Linked DNA regions of Homo sapiens: region 1 is linked to region 2. The links are contacts of gene promoters, found by promoter capture Hi-C in human tissues and cell types (Jung and others, 2019). All regions are on one chromosome and are shown on one strand. The core of a region is centred on a gene start or on the middle of the fragment in contact, and the rest is flanking DNA. Distances in the headings are between cores, read along the strand shown. Region 1 has its middle 18 kb from the start of CCNA1. Region 2 holds the start of CCDC169 (coiled-coil domain containing 169).

Region 1 (6,675 bases), core at 1,441-3,940, 120 kb after region 2:
AGCTTTTTGGTCAACATGAATATATGAACACAATGGATGTTAACAAAATAGTCAATGTTTACTTGAGCTAGTTAATATGAATCTGCTTATACAATTATATTTGAAATAATATTATAAAAATGTGCCAATTTTGAAATATTTCTTCTCATTTCAGAAATAATTTTACTCAAATTTTCTTCAAATTCTTGAAGACAAGAGTCTTCATTATCAGAAGAGCCACTGTTTGAGCCATCTAATTTTTTCCAATTTTAAGTATCTTGAGATAAAACAACTTTTAAGATAAAATACCTTTGGATTGGCATATGATACTATAATTGTAAGTTTTATTCCAAAACAAAGTAGCCAATTGTGAAACAGTAGAACAATTGTTTTTCATTGTCCTATGAGACTTACATTTGTTATCTCCACAAAGCAAAGGTGAGTTGCTTTATGAAAAACTGATCTTAGTAATCTTGTTTATATCCATATCCCAGCACTACAATTTGAAGGTCCTACCTGGAAGAATAATTACCAAATCTGTACTAAAAGGCTTTGTCTTTTTATTAGCTCAGTTAGATGACCTTTTAAGATTCCCCATATAGCTCTAATTGACATCTTTTCAGGCTAATTTGTCTTTCCTAAATAATTTGTAATTAAAATAGAATAATTGGAAGAATACTTCCATCAAACAAGAATCTTGGAGAGGGCTTGGATATTAAGTGTCTTAGTTCATTTGGGCTGCCACAGCAGAATACCATAGAGTGAGTACCTTATAAACAACAAATATTTATTTCTCATAGTTCTGGAAATTGGGAACTCCAATATCAAGGTGCCTGTAGATTCAGTGTCTGGTGAGGACCCGCTTCCTTATTCATAGTGGCAGTCTTCTCATTGTGTCTTCACAGAGCAGAAGGGGAGAGGGAGATCTCTGGGGTCTCTTTTATGAAGACGCTAGTCCCATTCATGAGGTTTCCTCCCTCATGACCTAATCAACTCCTAAAGACTCAGTCTCCTAATGCCATCACCTTGGAAGTTAGGATTTCGACATATGAATTTGAGGGGACATAAACATTTAGTCTATAGCGTTAAGTAACTCTTTTTCTCTGAGGACTAATTTGGTAAAACACAAAAACAAACAACATTCTTCAAATAACCTGGTCTATATTTTGGCTTAACAGTTACTCACATTTTGTTGTAGTTTTGTCTTTGGTATTATTGTTCTTTAGGGTAAAGTTTTTCAATCATTGAAGCCACAGAAAATCTTTAAGGTATTTACCATATTCATGTTTAACCATTTACACACTGCTATAAAGAAATGCCTGAGACTGGGTAATTTATAAAGGAAAGAGGTTTAATTGACTTGAAGTTCTGCATGGCTGGGGAGGCCTCAGAAAATTTAGAATTGTTGCAGAAGGTGAAGGGAAAGCAGGCACCTTCTTCACAAGGCAGCAGGAAGGAGGAGAGGAGGGAAAACTGCCATTTATAAAGCCATTAGATCTCGTGAGAATTCACTTGCTATCATGAAAACAACATGGGGGAAATCACCCTATGATCCAATCATCTCCCACCAGGACCCTCCCTCAACATGTGGGGATTATGGGAATTACAATTTGAGCTGAGATTTGGGTGGGGACACAGAACCAAACTATATCAACATGGCATGGTGGTTTTAACCACGCCTACAAATTCTTTGACACTACTCCTATAAAAAGATAGAACCCAATTCCGCTTCTCTTGAATATAAGCCAACCTAAGTGACTCAAGTTTAACAAATGAAATGTTCTGAAAGTGACATTGTGTGAGTTCTGAGGCTAGGTTGGAAAAGGCAAGATAGTGTCTGCCTGGTGATCTTTTTATGTTTCTGTCTATCCCTGTTTCTGAACCAGTGCCATGTTTTGAGGAAACCCAGGCTCCATGGAGAGGCCAATAGCCAAGACTAAGGTCTCAGCCAAAAGCAAGCATCATCTGCCAGATATGTAAGTGAATGAGCCATCAGATGATTCCCGTGGCTAGTCTTTGAGCTGCCTCAGCTAACATCAAGTAGAACTCTGACCATCTTGTAGATTTGTGAGCAAAATACATACTGTTGTTGTTTTAAGTTACTAAGTTTTTGAGGTGGTTTGTTATGCAACAGAAGATAACCAAAACACACAGATCATAGGACTACAGAACAGTATGTGTCTTACAGAGTAAATGCTTAATAAAGAATTCCCAAATGAATAAACACATGAATATGATTATAGTAAATCAAAGTGAATATAATTTCCATTTTCCAATGGCAACACTGATACATTTTTTTCTGACATCATTATTCCCAAAATGCTGTTATGGACTTAACTGTGCCTCCCTCCCAAATTCCTGTGTTGAAGCCCAAACCTCCAGTGTGACTGTATTTGGAGATAGGGCCTTTAAAGTGGTAATTAAGGGTAAATGACATCATAAGGATGGGGCCCTAGTCCAACAGAACTGTGTGTGGCCTTATAAGAAAAGGAAGAGACACCAGGGATGTATGCACAGAGAAAAAGCCATGTGAGGACGGGGTAAGAAGACAGCCATTTGCAAACCAAGGAGAGAAGCCTCAGGAGAAACCAAACCTGCTGAATCCTTGATCTTGAAATGCCAGTTCTGGAAATTGGGAACTCCAATATCAAGGTGCCTGTAGATTCAGTGTCTGGTGAGGACCCACTTCCTTATTCATAGTGGCAGTCTTCTCATTGTGTCTTCACAGAGCAGAAGGAGATAAAATAAGCACAATCAAAATGATAAAAAGGATATTACCACTGACTCCACAGAAATATAAACAACCATCAGAGACATTATAAATACTTCTGTGCACATAAACTAGAAAATCTAGAAGAAATTGATAAATTCCTGCACATATACACACTCTGAAGACTAAACCAGGAAGAAGTTGAATCCCTGAATATACCAATAACAAGTTGTGAAATTGAGGCAGTAATAAATAGCCCACGAACCCCCCCCCAAAAAAAAAAAACAACCCAGGACTTACAGCTGAATTCCACTAGAGGTACAAAGAAGAGCTGGTAGCAGTCCTACTGAAACTATTCCAAACAACTGAAAAGGAGGGACCCCTCCCTAACTCATTCTAGGAGGCCAGCATCATCCTGATACCAAAACCTGGCAGAGATACAACAAAAAAAGAAAACTTCAGGCCAATATCCTTGATGATCATCAATGCAAAAATTTTCCACAAAATGCTGGCAAACCATTGAATCCAGCAGCACATCAAAAAGCTTATCCACCACAATCAAGTAGACTTCGTCCCCAGGATGCAAGGTTGATTCAATATACGCAAATCAATAAATGTGGTTCATCACATAAAGAAAACTAAAGACAAAAACTACATGATTTTCTCACTAGATGCAGAAAAATCCTTCAATAAAATTCAACATCCCTTTATATTAACTCTCAATAAACTAGGTATTGAAGGAACATACCTCAAAATAATAAGAGCCATATATGACAAACCTGTAGCCAATATCATACTGAATGGACAAAAGCTGGAAGCATTACCCTTGAAAACCAGCACAAGACAGACAAGGATGCCCTCTCTCACCACTCCTATTCAACATAGTATTGGAAGGTCTGGCCAGGACAATTAGGCAAGATAAAGATATAAAGTGTATTCAAATAGGAAGAGAGGAAGTGAAACTATCTTTGTTTGAAGATAACAGGATTCTATTTTTAGAACACCCCATTGTCTCAACCCAAAAGCTTCTTAATCTGATAAGCAACTTCAGCAAAGTCTCAGGATATGAAATCAATGTGAAACATCACTAGCATTCTTACACACCAACAACAGGCAAGCTGAGAGCCAAATTACGAATGAACTCCCGTTCACAATTTCGACAAAAAGAATAAAATACTTAGGAATATAGCTAACAAGGGAAGTGAAGGAGCTCTTCAGGGAGAACTACAAACCACTGCTCTAAGAAATCAGAGATGACACAAACAAATAGAAAACATTCCATGCTAATGGCTAGGAAGAATCAATAACATGAAAATGGCCATATCGCCCAAAGCAGTTGATAGATTCAATGCTATTCCCATTAATCTACCATTAACGTTCTTCACAGAATTAGAAAAAACTGTTTTAAAATTCATATGGAACCAAAAAAGAGCCCAAATAGCCAAGGCAATCCTAAGCAAAAAGAACAAAGCTGGAGACATCATGTTACCTGACTTCGAACTATACTACAAGGCTACAGTAACCAAAACAGCATGGTACTGGTACAAGAACAGATAGAGAGACCAATGGAACAGAATAAAGAACTCAGAAATAAGACTGCAACCTACAACCATCTGGTCTTCAACAAACCTGCTAAAAACAAGCAAAGGGGAAAGGATACCCTATTTAACAAATGGTGCTGGGAGAACTGGCTAGCCATATGCAGAAAATTGAAACTGGATCCCTTCCTTACTTCATATACAAAAATAAACTCAAGATGGATTAAACACTTAAATGTAAAATCTAAAACTATAAAAACCCTAGAAGAAAATCTAGGCGATACTATTCAGGACATAGGCACAGGCAAAGATTTCATGATGAAGACACCAAAAGCAATTGCAACAAAAGCAAAAATTGACAAATGGGATCTAATTAAACTAAAAAGCTTCTGCACAGCAAAAGAAACTATCAACAGAGTAAACAGACAACCTACAGCGTGGGAGAAAATTTTTGCAGTCTATCCATCTGACAAAGATCTAATATCCACCATCTATAAGGAATTTAAACAAATTCACAGAAGAAAAATAACCCCATTGAAAGCTGGGCAAAGAACATGAACAGACACTTTTCAAAAGAAGACATACATTCAACCAACAAACCTATAAAAGAAAGCTTAACATCACTGATCATTAGAGAAATGCAAATCAAAGCCACAGTAAGATATCATCTCACACCTGTCAAAATGCCTATTATTAAAAAGTCAAAAAAACAAGAGATACTGATGAGGTTGTGGAGAAAAAGGAATGCTTTTATGCTGTTGGTGGGAGTGTAAATAGTTCAACCACTGTGGAAGACTGGCAATTCCTCAAAGACCTAGAGGCAGAAATACCATTTGACCCAGCAATCCCATTACTGAGTAGATACCCCCAAAATATAAATCATTCTGTTATAAAGATACATGCATGTGTATGTTCATTGCAGCACTAATCACAATAGCAAAGACATGGAATTAACCTAAATGCCCTTCAGTGATAGACTGGATAAAGAAAATGTGGTACACATATACCATGGAATACTATGCAGTCATAAAAAGGAAGAAGATCATGTCCCTTGCAAGGACATGGATGGAGCTGGAGGCCATTATCCTTAGCAAACTAATGCAAGAACAGAAAACCAAATACTGCACATTCTCACGTATAAGTGGGAGCTGAAGGATGAGAGCATGTGGACATGGAGGGGAATAACATGCATTGGGGCCTGACAGAGAGCGTGGGGTGGGAGGAGGGAGAGGATGAGGAAGAATAGCTAGTGGATGCTGGGCTCAATACTTAGTTAGTGGGATGATCTGTGCAGCAAACCACCATGGCACATGTTTATCTATGTAACAAACCTACACATCCTGCACATGTACCCCTGAACTTAAAATAAAAGTTGGAAGTTTAAAAAAATGCTGTACAACTTTGTTTTTATACAATTCAGATCCCCATCTTTTCTCAAAAGTGCAGTTTTGAAGTGGAAAATGAAGAGAGGGATGAGATGTGGCTTGTAGGAAAAAAGATTAATAAAGTCTTTCTGATTAATGATCTAAGACAAAATTTAAATGGATATGTTTAAAATCAGTTCCACCCTGAACTGCCCTTGAAATACATTGCTACAGATTATTAAATCACTCATATGAGTTAGAAATTGCATTTTACTTATCACACAGAAACCATTGCTGTTGTTGAACCGACAGATGATTAACCCCCAACAAATTCCAGTTTATTAATATTAGAGGGAGGACAGAGCACTGCACCTCAACACATGTGAGAGGACATGCCCAGCCCTGTCTATCCCAGTCTAAGAAAGTGTTCCCTTTTGTTTCTTTTGGTGGCCTTCAATTATTCTGGAGTGTTTCCCCCTCACTATTGTTGTGGTCTTAGCTTGTAATCAATAGTTAATCAGAATTTCAGAAGTTTCTATGTTGGTTATACCTCTTGACTTATCAAAAAAGCAAATTTCTATCTTGTTTTTATGTACTTCTTCAGGAAAAGGATCAAAGGCCAGCTTCCTATAACACAAAGACAGCTTAAACATGATTCAATATCTGCTTCTGGTGGGGTAAAATATTGATTGTGGATTCAAAGCAAGTAAATAGAAACAAAGAAAATATTTGTTATATTGATCATCTCGAATATTGCTTAGAGTATGCCATTATTTCCAAATCCCACTTACAAAGTACACAGTATTTTATCATTATTTAGTTGAATTTATTTTCACTGACTGGGTAAATAATCTTTCAGATTATTCTCCTAAAGGATTGGTATAGCAACAAGCTGTTAAACTGACCTATTTCGCTGGCTTCCTTTGGTTCCCTCCAGCCTGAATTGCAAACTCTATTTCTCTTCCTCTTTTAGTAACTGTGCCTGCTAGCTTCAGAAAAAAATTCTAATTTGTTATAAATAATCTTGGACTTGAAAGCCAAAAAAGTCATAGTTCTAGCTGTATATCTTCCATATTCCTTGTAA
Region 2 (6,365 bases), core at 1,417-3,916:
GGTTTCCCTTCCCTAAGTTTTCATTTATCCTTACATAGAACTTATATGACTTCTCATATCCATAATCTGATTTGATACTTTCTCCCAATAGTCAATGAACCTCTTTAGAACAGGGAAAACAAAGGTCTTCCATTTAAAGTGTTGACATATGGCAGGGTCATATCTTGCATACATTACAAATTTTAAGGATATATGAGTGTGTAGGTACACAGCATCCTCCACACCAAACACACATTCTTCCAACAACAATAGCTAAAACCTAGATACGGATTTTAAACATATCCCAAACCTAGAAGTTAAGATATAAAGAGTGTAACTTGAGGTGAATAGAAAACTGGTGATATTTATTTAATAAAGAAATAATATATTGATGTCATGTAACAAAGTTTTTGCTAATTAATGAACATTTTGAACTTGAAAGGTAGAAAAATAATTAAATAGTAATAGGTTTGATATTCTGAAGTATCAGTTTTAAAGCCTCTATCATAAACTATCATTAATGTGGCCAAAAAGCAATACTGAAATGTTGGTACTATTATTCAATATATGGAATTTAATGCACCATAGATATCCTGGTAAAATGAACAATAATTATACAGGAGTCACAAATATAAGTATTTACTTATATACCTTCATTGTCAGTATTGAGTTTGGCTTCCAGTTCCGTAATCTTGTGTCTTAGTTCAAATATTGAGAGTTGCACTGCATCCCTGTTATTTAAAATATTTTTGTTGATTATAATTCAATTAAAAATAACATCAGAAAAATAATACATAGTAACCCACTACTACTTCAGGAACAATTTACTATGACACATTATTTACTGAAGGACTGGTTAAGAAATAAGACTCAGGCAAAGGAAGGCTTCCAATTAGTCAGTTCTAGGACTCAAATATGCACTAAAGCTCAAAGACCCCCAGGCAACCATTAGAAATCTTTTATTTATTTTTATTTATTTTTTTGAGACAGAATCTCGCTCTGTCGCCCAGGCTGGAGTGCAGTGGTGCAAACTCGGCTCACTGCAACCTCCGCCTCCCGGGTTCAAGCAATTCTCCTGCCTCAGCCTCCTGAATAGCTGGGATTACAGGCATGCGCCACCAAGCCCTGCTAATTTTTTTGTATTTTTAGAAGAGACAGGGTTTCACCATATTGGCCAGGCTGGTCTCGAACTCCTAACCTTGTGATCCGCCCAGCCTCGGCCTCCCAAAGTGCTGGGATTACAGGCGTGAGCCACCAGGCCCGGCCCTTGGAAATCCTTTATTTTTAACTTAAATATCATCCTAAAGAAGTTAGTTACCTGGTTTTTCAGAACCAAGCAAATTAGGCACTGCACATTATTACAGAAAGGCATACCTAGGGCAATACATAACAGCTGACAAACTGAAACAAAGAGAAAAAAACAAACACTAATTTAAAAGGTTAGCTATTTAGGGCATCAGTAAATAGAACATTATCATATGACAGGGCCATTTATTCAATAAATATTTTTGAGTGCCTATTATGTTCAAGGCATTGTATTAAATACGGAAGAATTCAGTGAACAGTGAACAGAAAAATAGCAATAGCGGCAGCAAAGTTCCACTGGATGCGTATCACAAGCCAATGCTAAGTTCTTTATAGTGCATTTCATTCCAACCTGGGAACAACAGCAGGAGGTATGAGATGACTATTTGTATACCAGTCTTAGAGCTGAGAAAACTGAGGATTAAAGAGGTTAATTAACTTGTCTAAGATTGCATAGTTACTGAGTGACAAGAGATGGAGTTTGTGTTTTTGCAGGACTGTCCTCAAGTACTTGCTCTTATTCTCTACTTCCTCAGAATACACAGAACCTGTCCTCAGAACGCGTGTAGTTTGGTAGCAAAACAAGAAATAGACAGGCAATTAAAATACTGTGACTGGAGCTACAATAGAGGAAAACCCAGAACCCTATCTAGGCACAAAGGAGAGTCCAATTCTCACGGGACTTGTGGATGGAGTTGGGAGTATGTCCAAAAAATACTTTAAATGTTTCAAAAATTTAACACGAAGTACGAATACTGTTTTTAAAAAGCATAAAGGAGGAGTAACAGTTTTACTAAATGTCATTTTATGAAGTTCCCCTTAAAGGGATGAAAGAAAAAAAAAACCCCGTATAACTAAATAAAATCTTTGGAATTTTAAGCAGAAAACCTGGATTTATGGAGACATCAAAACCAAACACAACTTTTGGCATTACAGTATATGGGCAAAATACACGCCATATGATTGGATCCTTAAGGGCAGCACATCCTACCCGGAAAGCTGCCTACTTAACAATACCAAAGGCTTACTCAAAGAGGCACGTGAATCTTTCGCATGGAATACTTTTGGAACCCAGACCGAAGTGCCCAGGGGTTAATCACGGCGCCGGTCTTACAGCACCCTCAGCGGCTTCAGCCCTGAGACTCTGCAGGTGAAGGCTCGGGGGGTGTGGACGGGACCCCACACCGCGCCGCCCGCCGACTCACTTCTTGCGGACTTCTTCCAGCAACTGCTGTTTCAGGCGGTTGGTGCTCACACCGTCGAAGTTGTAGTTTCTCTCTTCCTTCATAGTGTCAGGCCAGAGACCTCCCGCGTCTTTCCCCTCAGCACCTTAGAGCACAAGACATTAAGGGCCACCCAGAAGCCAGTACGGCACGAGGCGGTGAACCCCAACCGCCCCCCGGTCGCACCTCCCGCGCCTGCCCGCAGAGGCACGTGGTGACGTCATAAAGCGATGCCCGCAGGCGGCAGGGGGTGGGGCGAGGGCAGCCGGGGAGACTGGAGAAGCCTACTCTGTGCGGTGGAGCGACCCTGGATAACAGCTCCAGGGACACTCCTTGCTCAAGACGCTGGGGTTAGACGTGCTCCGGCTACACAGCGGAGTGTCAGGGGGCCAAGAATATCCCTCTCCTTTTTCTTCCCTCCTGCTGGCTTTGGTTGCTTTCCTAAACATTGCCCCGGACGGCAAAGTCGGCTTCACTCTTAGCCCTTGTTAGGGAAACGCTGGATCCAAGATTAGCTGCGCCCTTCTTTGCTTCAGTTGAACAAGCACCAGAGTCGCTGATTTGGCAGTGTCGGAGCGGGAGGAACTGGTCTTAAAAAGGTACCTCCTGAACTCGGGAAGACTGCTAACCCTCCAGATTATTGTTTTGCATCTGTGTGCTGTTCATGAACATACCTCAGAGCTGCTCACTGCAACTTGAAATTTCATTATATTTTTAATCACAAAGTTTGCATCCTACCCTTGATACATCTGTGTTTCCTTGACAAAAAGAGACAAACTCTGTAAAATATTTGAAGAGATTTATTCTGAGCCAAATGAGTGACCAATGGCGGGTGACAGCCCTCAGGAGATTCTGAGAACACGTGCCCAAGGTGGTCAGGGTACAGCTTAGTTCTATACATTTTAGGGAGACATGGGACATCAATCAAATGCATGTTAAGATATACACTGGTTCCATCGGGAAAGGCAGGGCAATTGGAAGGGGTGGGGGACGGGGTGGCTTCCAGGTCACAGCTAGATTCAAAGATTTTCTGATTGGCAATTGGTTGAAAAGTTACTGACTAAAGACTTAGGAATGTCTTTAGAGAATAAAGGGGTTGTGGAGACCAAGGTTTTAGTGAGAATGGGATAATTGGTGTGGAAAACACAATTTGGTGTCAGAAGTGTTGTGAATACATAGTTTTCCAATTGAGTTTCTGGATGAGATTAACATTTCAATTGGTAGACTGAGTATAGTACATTGTCTTCCCCAATGTGGGTGGGCCTCAGCCAATCGACCGAAGACAGAATAGAACAAAAAGGCTGACCTCCCAGGAGTAAGAGGGAGCTCCTACAGCCAAACAGCTTGAGCTGGAACACTTTTCCAGCCTTGGGCTCAGACTGGGACTGCACATCAGTTTGCTTGCATCTCCAGCTTGTCAACTGCAGATCCTGAGACTTCTCAGCCTTCATAATTGTACGGGCAAATTCCTTATAATAAATCTTTTATACACACACTCCCTATTGGTTCTGTTTCTGTGAATTACCCTAATATAGGAGGTATGCTTATCAAAATTTTGTCTAGCTGTTAAGTCTGAAAGGGCAACTCACAACCAAGTAAACAGAATAGAATGAAGTGAAAAGGACTAGATTATCTGTTGACAAATCCAAATATACAGAGGATTTCTTTTTTGAGACGGAGTCTCATCTGTCTCCCAGGCTGGAGTGCAGTGGCACAATCTCAGTTTACTGCAAACTCCACTCCTGTGTTAAAGCAATTCTCCTGCCTCAGCCTCCCAAAGTAGCTGGGACTACAGGCACGCACCACCATGCCTGGCTTAATTTTTTTGTGTATTTTTAGTAGAGATGGGGTTTCACCATATTGCTCAGGCTGGTCTTGAACTCCTGACCTCGTGATCCACCCACCTCTGCCTCCCAAAGTGCTGGGATTATAGGCATGAGCCACTGCACCCGACCCAGAGGATTTCTTAAAAAGATCTGTTAGCAGGATCTCACTGTGGGAAATTAGGAGCAAAGGCAAGCAGAAAACAGGTTTGTCAACAACTACAGAAACCACAGATTTGTGTTTCTGGCAGAGATAAAGGACCTGAATTTACCCTCCTGCCTGAAACAACTAAAAAACTAAGAGGAACAAAAAAAGAACATTGAACATCAGGCAATAAGGGAAAACGATCACCAAGAGATGAGACACAAATGAGGCAAGCTCCCAAATTGGCCTGGGCCTGCCAGGGTACAAAGCAGAAAGGGAGAAAACAGGCAGAGGCTGGTGGTTGCCCTAAGTTGAGGAAACGGAGTTTCTCTAAGAGTCTAGAGAGAACAAGGCAGCTAGACTTTGCAGGGCAGATATTGGAGGGGAGAGCTGCACAGGGTGTTCCCAGACCAAACTGAGGGTTGGGTTGCTATTTCTTGTGACCCAGTAAGAACATGTAGATGAACTGGGGAGGAAGAGAGTTTTTATTTCTGGAACCAGTTACAGGCAGAAGCCCTGGAAACTATAACCAGACCAACTCAAAATTACAGTTTTCCAGACCTTCTAAGCTATATGTCTATGTGTAAGTGTGCATTCATCTATAGACATTAAGTGGTTAACTTTTTATAATCTACAACTAAGGTCTTGAGTCCTGAAGACCTTCCTCTGGAGCCTCAGTAAACTTAATCTAAATGGGTCCAGGTGCTAGGGTGATTACCCCTGTCTCCTGCTAAATCAGGGAGGTTTGGGGATTCCTTCAGAACCCCAAAAAACTTGTTTAATCCTAAATGGGTCCAGCTAAGAATTCCTTCTTTTTTTTTTTTTTTTTTTTTGTCATGCTTTGAGACCTAGTTCTTGGTGGGTTTTTATTACATTCCAGCCTTTGTATAAGGGCTTTGGTTTTTTTAGCTTTTAGTATTTAACTTAGCCACTCAAGTCAGTACTGAAACAGTTGTTATGGAGGCCTGTGTTAATGAGACCTGGCCTGCCACAAGGTACACTCTGCAGCAGAATACTGATGAATGCACACACATGGTGGGGCAAGTACTCAGGCTGGGGAAAGAACCATCACAAAGGATTAGAGGGGAAATCCTTACAGTTTACAGAGGTAGGAATAATACCTGCTACCACCCACCAGAATGGAAAACCTCTGAATTCACAGGGCATCAGGTACACAAAGGATTTTGATTTAGGAGTCGGAAAAAACACTAGCCCTAACAAGTTGAAAAGAAAGATCCAAAAGTATCCAACTGGTTCTAAGTAACTTAATCCCCTCCCAAGACAAAACTCGAGAATATTTATAGGAACACAAAACATCCAGTACCCAATAAGGTAAAATTCACAATGTCCAACAATATCTTTAGTCTCGTTATGTTGCCCAGGCTGGTCTCAAACTCCTCGACTCGAGAGATCCACCCAACCTCAGCCTCCCAAAGTGTTGGGATTACAGGTGTGCACCTCTGCACCCAAGGTAACATTATTTTCTTAGGGTATGTTAGAACTCACCTGTAAGTCCATCTGGGGCTGATGTTTCTTTGTGGGAAGATTTTAAACTCCTTATGGAACTTGTTTAATCAGCCAAAATACTCCTAAAGAATTTGGTTGAGGGAATTGAGCCTCTTGCCCTAACAATCAGTAGGGCTTACTAATTTACAATGATGACAGTGTGGGACTGGCACAGGAACAAAAGAAATGACAGATGGAACAAACGTCTGAGCCCAGAAACACTCATACTCTATATATAGAGAAAGACCTGTGGGAAATTACTGAAGAAAAGAACTATTCAATAAATGGGGGTTAAATAACTGATTATCTACGGGGTGGGGGAGGAGGGGAGGAATTAGATACCTTACCTCTTGCACACATATACACAATTCTCAGTAAACACCT

The links. Contacts are between HindIII fragments. The study calls those that stand out against the background at their distance.
Region 1: a contact is called between a fragment that was not itself captured here and the fragment with the promoter of CCDC169 in region 2, in 6 of the 25 tissues and cell types used here (H1 embryonic stem cells, dorsolateral prefrontal cortex, hippocampus and 3 more).

Annotation. Positions count from the first base shown.
Region 1 is chr13:36,410,995-36,417,669 of GRCh38, forward strand. No RefSeq gene overlaps it. Among named protein-coding and RNA genes, the nearest start is that of CCNA1, 18 kb to the right of the region's middle. The HindIII fragment of the contact is 7,245 bases long and covers 1-6,313 here.
Region 2 is chr13:36,295,148-36,301,512 of GRCh38, forward strand. CCDC169 (coiled-coil domain containing 169) reads right to left here and starts at 2,667. Exons shown (of 8, transcript NM_001144981.3): 1 at 2,490-2,667; 2 at 631-710. The coding sequence starts at 2,572. CCDC169-SOHLH2 (CCDC169-SOHLH2 readthrough) reads right to left here and starts at 2,667. Exons shown (of 16, transcript NM_001198910.2): 1 at 2,490-2,667. RefSeq lists enhancers at 2,294-3,255, 3,256-4,218. The HindIII fragment of the contact is 10,512 bases long and covers 1-6,365 here.